2 separate regions of the Homo sapiens genome follow, and region 1 is linked to region 2. The links are contacts of gene promoters, found by promoter capture Hi-C in human tissues and cell types (Jung and others, 2019). All regions are on one chromosome and are shown on one strand. Each heading gives the region's core, a stretch centred on a gene start or on the middle of the fragment in contact. The rest is flanking DNA. Distances are from core to core; before and after follow the strand shown.

Region 1 (3,756 bases), core at 26-2,525, 84 kb after region 2:
GAAGATTCACTCTGCCGAAAGGAAAGGATTACACTGAAAGCTTCGTGCAAGAAGCTGCCTTTTTCTTTTGTTCCCAAGCACAGAGTGACGGATAAAAGGCGAAATGTCTCCACTCTGGGTTCACCGGGTTTTGTGTAACAAATATGTAACTGACGATTCCCCTACCGCCCCTTTTCTCTTGCATCATGGGAATTCCGTAACGTGGCCACGCCCTCCCTTCCTTCCCCTCCTGCCTGCTTTTCCTTTTAAATACTGAAGCCCTCAAAACCACCTTTGGAGGAAGGCACAGGCCTGTCTCCCAGGCACGCATCTTTAACCTTGGCAAAATCAACTTCTAAATAAATTGAGACCTGTCTCAGACACTTTCTAGTTTCCAGTCTTTTTTTTTTTTTTTTTTTTTTTTTTTGAGAGGGAGTCTCGCACTGTCACCCAGGCTGGAGTGCAGTGGTGCGATCTCGGCTCACTGGAAGCTCCGCCTCCCGGGTTCACGCCATTCTCCTGCCTCAGCCTCCCGAGTAGCTGGGAGTACAGGCGCCCGCCACCGCGCCCGGCTAATTTTTTGTATTTTTAGTAGAGACGGGGTTTCATCGTGTTAGCCAGGATGGTCTCGATCTTCTGACCTCATGATCCGCCCACCTCAGCCTCCCAAAGTGCTGGGATTACAGGCATGACCCACTGTGCCCGGCCTGCCAGCATTAACTTTTAAGATTTCTTCTTCTTCTTTTTTTATTTTTTGAGACGGAGTTTTGTTCTTATTGCTCAGGTTGGAGTGCAGTGGCGTGGTCTTGGCGGCTCACTGCAACCTCCACCTCCCACGTTCAAGTGATTCTCCCGCCTCAGCCTCTCAAGTAGCTGGGATTACAGGTGTGCACCACCACCCAGCTAATCTTGTATTTTTAGCAGAGATGGGGTTTTACCATGTTGTCCAGGCTGGTCTCGAACTCCTGACCTCAAGTGATCCACCTGCCTAGGCCTCCCAAAGTGCTGGGTTTACAGGCACGAGCCACTGCGCCTGGCCAGATTTCCTCACATTTTTACAGTAAGCTTGCTCACACGTGTTTTTTGTGTACCTACCCTTTTTCATGGATCATGTGCAGGGTCAAAGTTATTCTTCCCCGATGCATGTTTCCAACTGTGTGGTCTGTGCTGCTCCCAGTCCTGCCATGGGGCCCCTAAATTTATTAAAACTATTCCCAGCTGCTCTATGAACATCCCTGCCTCAGTCCACCCTCACCAACATGAAAAAAAGCCTTTACCAACCCCGTAGGCAAAAATCTAGTCTTGTTTAAGTTGTACTTGTTAGATTCTTGGTAAGATTAAGCTTATTACCTACACTCATTGACCGTATTTTTCCTCTCTTGTGAACCACAGTTTCTGGTCTGACTCCTTATTTCTCTTGGATTATTTTTTTCCAAAGGCAACCACTTAGCCAGATTTCCCAGCTCCATTTACTCACCAGCTCCCCGTCCCCTACTGATGTCAAATGCTCCCTCCATTACACGTTATTTCCCAGGCCTGCTTTTGTACGAGGACTGCAGCATTTTATTTTTATTAAAAACAATTTTTTTAAAGATAGGGTCTCACTGTCATCCAGGCTGTAGTGCAGTGGCACGATCACGGCTCACTGCAGCCTCCACCTCCGGGGCTCAAGTGATCCTCCCACCTTAGCCTCCGGAGTACCTTGGACTACAGGCATGCGCCACCATGCTGGGCTAATTTTTTTTTTTTTTTTTTTGTATTTTTTGTACAGATAGAGTCTCCCCATATTGCCCAGTCTGGTCTCAAACTCCTGGACTCAAGTGATCCACCTGCCTCAGCCACCCAAAGTGCTAGGATTATAGGACTGAGACCACTTTAATCACAACAGTCTTCTAACTCCTACACTTTAAGTTTTAGGATTTGAAAAAGTACATGTCCACCTCCCCGTGTCCTGCCTCCGCCTGATTGCTTTTCTTTTCAAAAATGTTACAGGTGACTCTCAAATGTTAGCCTTTTCAAGCCTCAAGATCAACTGGGCAAGCTCCTCTCCTGAAGCCCCTGCCTGACCTCTCACTGTGTTCATATTAAATGTGTGAACTAAGCCAGGCATGGTGGCTCAGGCTTGTAATCCCAGCACTTTGGGAGGCTGAGGCAGGCGGATCACTTGAGGTCAGGAGCTCGAGACCAGCCTGGCCAACGTGGTGAAACTCCGTCTCTACTAAAGATACAAAAATTAGCCAGGTGTGGTGGCAGGCACCTGTAGTTTCAGCTACTCGAGGGGCTGAGGCAGGAGAATCACTTGAACCTGGGAGCCGAGTGAGCAGCCGAGGCTGCAGTGAGCCGAGATCGTGCCACTGCACTCCAGCCTGGGCAACAGAGTAAGGCTCCGTCTCAAAAAAAAAAAAACAGTGTGAACTGGGAACATCCCTTCCTCTATGGTTCTGAAGTTTTTTTTCATCCAAAATCATGGCTTTTTCTCCCTCTCCCTGGGGAGGAGTTGGGGGGCGAGTGCTCCTCGGCCTTCTTCCCAGAGTCCAGTCTGCTTTATACACGTATGCCTGGAAGGTGGGGCCCCAGATTCTCGTTTCTATTACATTCTCTTATTATATTTCCCACTTGGCCATCATCCTTGTGCAAGAAAGCTGGTGGTCTTTGTGCAACTCTGCGCTGGGCCGGCTCACTGGGTGTGCCTCTTAATCGTCAAAGCCTTTCTGCTGTTCCATCTCCTGAACAGACATAAATGTTCTTCCTGCCCAATTACCCTGTCATCTGCTAGAGGCATCCTCATCTTTCTTGTTTTAAGGGGACTGCCTCCCACACTTTTACTTTGAAGCAGTAGCTAGCTATTAATACACGATGCCACTTATCCTGTTAAGGAAAGAGCCCTATTACTAAGCCCCTTGACCAAGAGCTCTTATCAGGAATGGATGTTAAACGTGAAACGTCTTCTTAGGATCTGTGAAACTCACTATCTAGGCTCTTCTCTGACCCAACAGTATGGTTTAGTGTATGACTGGATTTACTGACACAAAACCAGCCTCTCACCGCTGGTGTACGCCACTGTGGGTGACTATTCTTTTCCTACAGTGCTGGATTCTAGTTGCTAAGATTTTATGGAGGGTCTCTGCACTTCCATTCATGCGGGAAGCTGGTCTGTGCTTCCTTTTTCTGCGTTTAGCTGCAGCACAGTGATGAGAGCCACAGGTTCTCGAACAAGCCTGCCTGCTTCCGATCTCAGTCCTGCTGCGTACGAGCTGGAGCCCTCAGGCAAGATGCTTCACCTCCGAGTGTGGAGGGCAGAGATGAAGAGATGCCTTCCTCGGGGCCGTCCTGAAGTTTCGCTCGCTCCTGCCAAGTACATGGCACAGTGGCTGGTGCCCCTTGCAGCTCATTCCCACACCTGGGCCACGTGGGTTCTGGGGAGCAGATGGGGTGGCTTCCTTTGTGGAGTCTCTGAGCTGCAAGCTCTTTGGAGTCACAAGGGTGGCTCCCTGACAACCTCTCACTTTGGTCCCTGGACCAGAGGCCTTTTCAGGTTTTCTACCTTGAGTCAACGTCACCAATTTGTACTGCTTGCAGAATAGTCATTTCAGCATGTTTCAAAATGTACTAAACTGGAGCGTGGCATTTCCTTACTAAACTCCTAAGTCCTGCGCTTACTTGCAGGGAATTCTTTTAAAAAAGAAAAAAATTTAAAAAGATAAAATAACATCCTTTCTGTAGGTAAGGTATCAACTGCTTGCATGCCCTCATACTGCACGTTTACGGGCAAAATCT
Region 2 (3,935 bases), core at 491-2,990:
CCACTCCCGGCAGGAAACCACTTCAGGGTTTACTGTGGGCTCCGAAATCAGCCTGTGAGTCCTAGTTAGGGTCCCCTGTGCCTGACTCTCCTCTCCCCAGGCTGCAAGAAATAGGGATGACCAGAAGTCAAACTGTGCCCTTGGGAACACCCCACCCCTCACCACTGTCGTGCCAGGAGTCTGTTCCTAAGACCCCTCCCCAAGTCCTGTCTCCTCCTCTTCCTCCCATAAACCACAGCAGACACTCAGCCACCAGGCTGCAGCCCTGCACCTTCTCCAGCAGCCGCTGGCCTTCGCCAGAGTTCTTGAAAGCCCAGTTGTCCTTCCCCAGCCACGTGGAGGCAGACGGATCTCTCCTGGGGGCAGCCTGTAGCTGTCTGTGCAAAGGTTCCCAAGACTAAAGTGTAGAGGACAGGTAAGATGACACTGTCATGATCATCATTCGTCCTGTGCCCTGTGGACATCAACCCACAGATGTGACATCAACCCATCTGATATTGAGCCCAGTGGGTGGGGAGATCCTAACCCAGCTGCTGCTGTTGAGGACTTGGGTGGTGTCTGGCCAGTGGGAGGGGAGGTCAGGCGAGTTTTCAGCAGATGACCCCGTGCTCTTCGGAAGCCCGGAGGTGCCACACTGTACAAGTGTGATGCCTGGGATCCTGTGCTCCCCTGATGCCTGGGAATGGGGTGAAGGAACAGCCTAGGCTTGGGTTCTCTCCTGGGTTGTTTCGGGACTTGGCCCCAGCTCAGGAAGGGTTTGTGGAGGAGCCAAGGAGGGCCTTGTTCCTGTGGGATGTCTTTGCCTTGGGCACAAGGACAGCCTCTTGCTGCTGCTCTGCCCACCGCCCACCCCTTGGCGGCCTCTGGGAGTCTGGGCTGCTCTCCCTCTGGACCTAACCAGTTGCCCAATGGCTGGACCTGCTTAAAGCTCCCTCTTACAACTGGACCAGGCAGCCAGGGGAGGCACTGAGAGGCCGAGCTTCTGAGCTGGTGCCTGTGGATGCTCGACGGTCCCGCAGCTCCCACAATGGGATGGCCAAGCAGACCCTGAGATCCACAGCCCCCCTTTAGTGAAACAGGAGGGAGGTCGCTGGGCACAGGGAGCCGGGAACGCCTGCCCTCCCCGCCATCGACGGCTCCCGAGGCCTGAACCTTCGCTCCAGCCCCAGCACAAGCCGGCCAGGGCGCAGGGCCAAGTGTTGCCCGCCATTCCCCGGGTACCCCATGACCTCCCAGCTGGGGCTGGCTCGGACTGAGGAGTCGTCCCTGCCCGTCACCCTCTGGGGTCTCCAGTGCTGCGGAGCTCAGCTGGCTTTTGCAGCGGTAGGGGCTGGGAGGAGAAGCTGCAGGGAGACCGCAGGCGTGGGACGTTGTGGGGGGTCAGGCTTGCTCTGGGGCTGGGACCCCGGGGGGAGCAGTGGGGTTGACGCCACAGCGATGACTTGGGCCACGGGTCTGGGGGCTCTCCCGCGGGGCGATTGGGCTCTGTCTTTCGGGATTAGGGTCTCTCCCACAGGGTTTGGGGTTCTCTCTGCAGATTTGGGGGAGTCTCTCCCGCGGGATGAGGGGGGGCTCTCCGCCGCACCCGCCTATGATGGCCCAGAGGACCCGAGCTCGGGTCACTCCCGTCGCCCTCGGGGCTCGGCGAGGGTGCAGGAGGCGGGCGCTGAGCCGGTGACGCGACTCCGGGCGGCTCCCGGGTGCGCCGCATATATAGCAGCGGCGGCGGTGGCGGCGGCCACACCGGGCGGCGGACACGTGGAGGGACCCGGCCCGCGCCTTCTGCCCCTGCTGCCGGCCGCGCCATGCGGTGAGCGCCCCAGGCCGCCAGAGCCCACCCGACCCGGCCCGACGCCCGGACCTGCCGCCCAGACCCGCCACCGCACCCGGACCCCGACGCTCCGAACCCGGGCGCAGCCGCAGCTCAAGGTACTACTGGCGCCGGGCCGACCCTGCGCCCCCGGGAGGCCTCCCCTTCGGCTTTCCTCTGCCCAGGGACGGTTCTGCCAGGGCCCTGGCCCGGCCGCCGCCTCTGCTCCTCCCCGCAGCCCCGGCACTCCTTGCCTCGGGGCGCAGCCCACTCCGGGTTCCGACCCGCCCGCCCTGTCCTTCCCTTCCAGATGGCCCGAGGCAGCGCCCTCCTGCTCGCCTCCCTCCTCCTCGCCGCGGCCCTTTCTGCCTCTGCGGGGCTCTGGTCGCCGGTAAGTGCGGGGCGCGTCTCCTCCGAGCGAAGGGGACATCAGAGCCGGCCGGGCGTGGAGGGCTTCCTGGAGGAGGCAGCCTCCGCCCTGCCCGCGGGGATGGGGGTGGAAAGTGGAAAGGCGGGCGCTGTCCTGGCTGCGGGCGTCGCGGGAAGGGTCCGGGGCTCCCTGGGATTCCCCCCGCGCGCTTCTCCGAGTGTATCAACAGCCCCGGGCTATAACCAGGCCGCCGGGAGAGCTCTGCGCTTCGGGTCAGCGCCTCGGGAAAGCGAGAAGCTCGCCCGTTCCGCAGGGCTTAGTTAGAATGGAGGGCTAGGAGCCACTGGCGTGGCCTCAGCGTCACTAAAGCAGGTGCAGTGCGCTGAGAGTGCGCGGGCTCAGGCCCTCAAGTGAAGTATTTCGTAAATAAAGTGGTTCCATTTTCATGTCAAATATAGCCGACTTAGGGGTAAACCTGGAATTTCGCGAGCTATCCAAAAGCACATGCATTGTTCTAAGTCCTCTGCCATGCCGGGAAAGCCTGGGTGCACCCATTCAGCATAGGCTCCAGGCACAGCCCTGGCATCTGATCCCCTTTTCTCCCTTCAAGGCCAAGGAAAAACGAGGCTGGACCCTGAACAGCGCGGGCTACCTGCTGGGCCCACGTAAGTGACTGACAGCATGGCCTCCCCACTCCTGACCCCACCTGCCCCTCGCTTTGAACCCTGGCTCCTGCCCCTCCGCCTGCGGCTGGGCAGACCCTCTGGCCTCCCTCTTGACCTCATTGCCCGTCTCCATTGCTCTGCACACTTGATCTGTGTACGGTTCTTTCCAGAAGCTTCTCCTGCCCCGGCTCTGCCGCCCTGTCCCGGGGTGAGATTCCCACCCTGGGCTTTGCTCAAGTTCTCCTGGGCTTTCCCGCCTTGCAGTCCTTACAGGCCCTGTTCTGGGCCTCTCCCCAGGCCCCCGGGTCTCCCAAAACACTCAACTCCTCGGCTTGCAGAGCACCCTAGGTCAGCGGACCCCAAATCCTGCCTCCCTCTTCCCTTTCTCCAAGCTCCACACGGGAATTGCCAGATCGCCTGAAGGCAGCCCAGACAGGCTCCCCTCAAAACAAGGTTCAGGTGACCCTGCCTGCCCAAGCCTGTGTCCCCTCCCTCTCCCTGTCCTGTTGTTGTCACCTGTGTCAGCGGTGTCCCCTGCTGCCTGAGGTGAGCCCTAGCCCTAGATGGGACACTGCAGGCTGACACCTCCCCGTGTCCGCCCCCGCCCCTGTCCCAGGCCTCTACTTTCTCCACATCCTTGGTCTGTGCAGCAATGCCTTCTGACTTTCCTCCAAAGGAGGGGACAAGAGGAGGCCTTGGTTCCCTCCTGTAACTCACCTTCCCCTCCACACCTCACCATCCACCTTAAAAGCCTCCCTGTACTGCCTTCTGCCAGAGGAAGGATGTGAACAGCACGCAGGGCCTATCTGAGCCCCGCGGAGCAGCAAATGGGGAGAATGGTGCTCTTCTCCCCATGCCAAGGAAAGCTGACTTAGTTCTCAGTCCCAGAGTCGAATACAGCTTCCTCCTCCTGCAGACGCTTGTTTATCGGGGTCACTCAGAGGACCCCCAGAGTCAGGCTTTAAGAAACAGACACGGGGATGACAGAGCCGCCTGAGGCCGCGTGCGGATCGGTCCAGGCTGTTCACCACAGAGCCTGCTGGTCTCTGTGCGGCCCTCTCATCCTCTCCCTGCCCATGGAGTGGCCTGA

The links. Contacts are between HindIII fragments. The study calls those that stand out against the background at their distance.
Region 1: a fragment that was not itself captured here is called in contact with the fragment with the promoter of GAL in region 2 in 2 of the 25 tissues and cell types used here (H1 embryonic stem cells and dorsolateral prefrontal cortex).

The regions. Positions count from the first base shown.
Region 1 is chr11:68,767,688-68,771,443 of GRCh38, forward strand. All of the region lies in intron 14 of CPT1A (carnitine palmitoyltransferase 1A), which reads right to left. Among named protein-coding and RNA genes, the nearest start is that of TESMIN, 18 kb to the left of the region's middle. The HindIII fragment of the contact is 3,881 bases long and covers 1-3,216 here.
Region 2 is chr11:68,682,804-68,686,738 of GRCh38, forward strand. GAL (galanin and GMAP prepropeptide) reads left to right here and starts at 1,741. Exons shown (of 6, transcript NM_015973.5): 1 at 1,741-1,929; 2 at 2,121-2,201; 3 at 2,791-2,845. The coding sequence starts at 2,121. The region is part of intron 2 of LOC107984343 (a long non-coding RNA gene); the gene reads right to left. RefSeq lists enhancers at 460-1,135, 1,812-2,487. The HindIII fragment of the contact is 15,033 bases long and covers 1-3,935 here.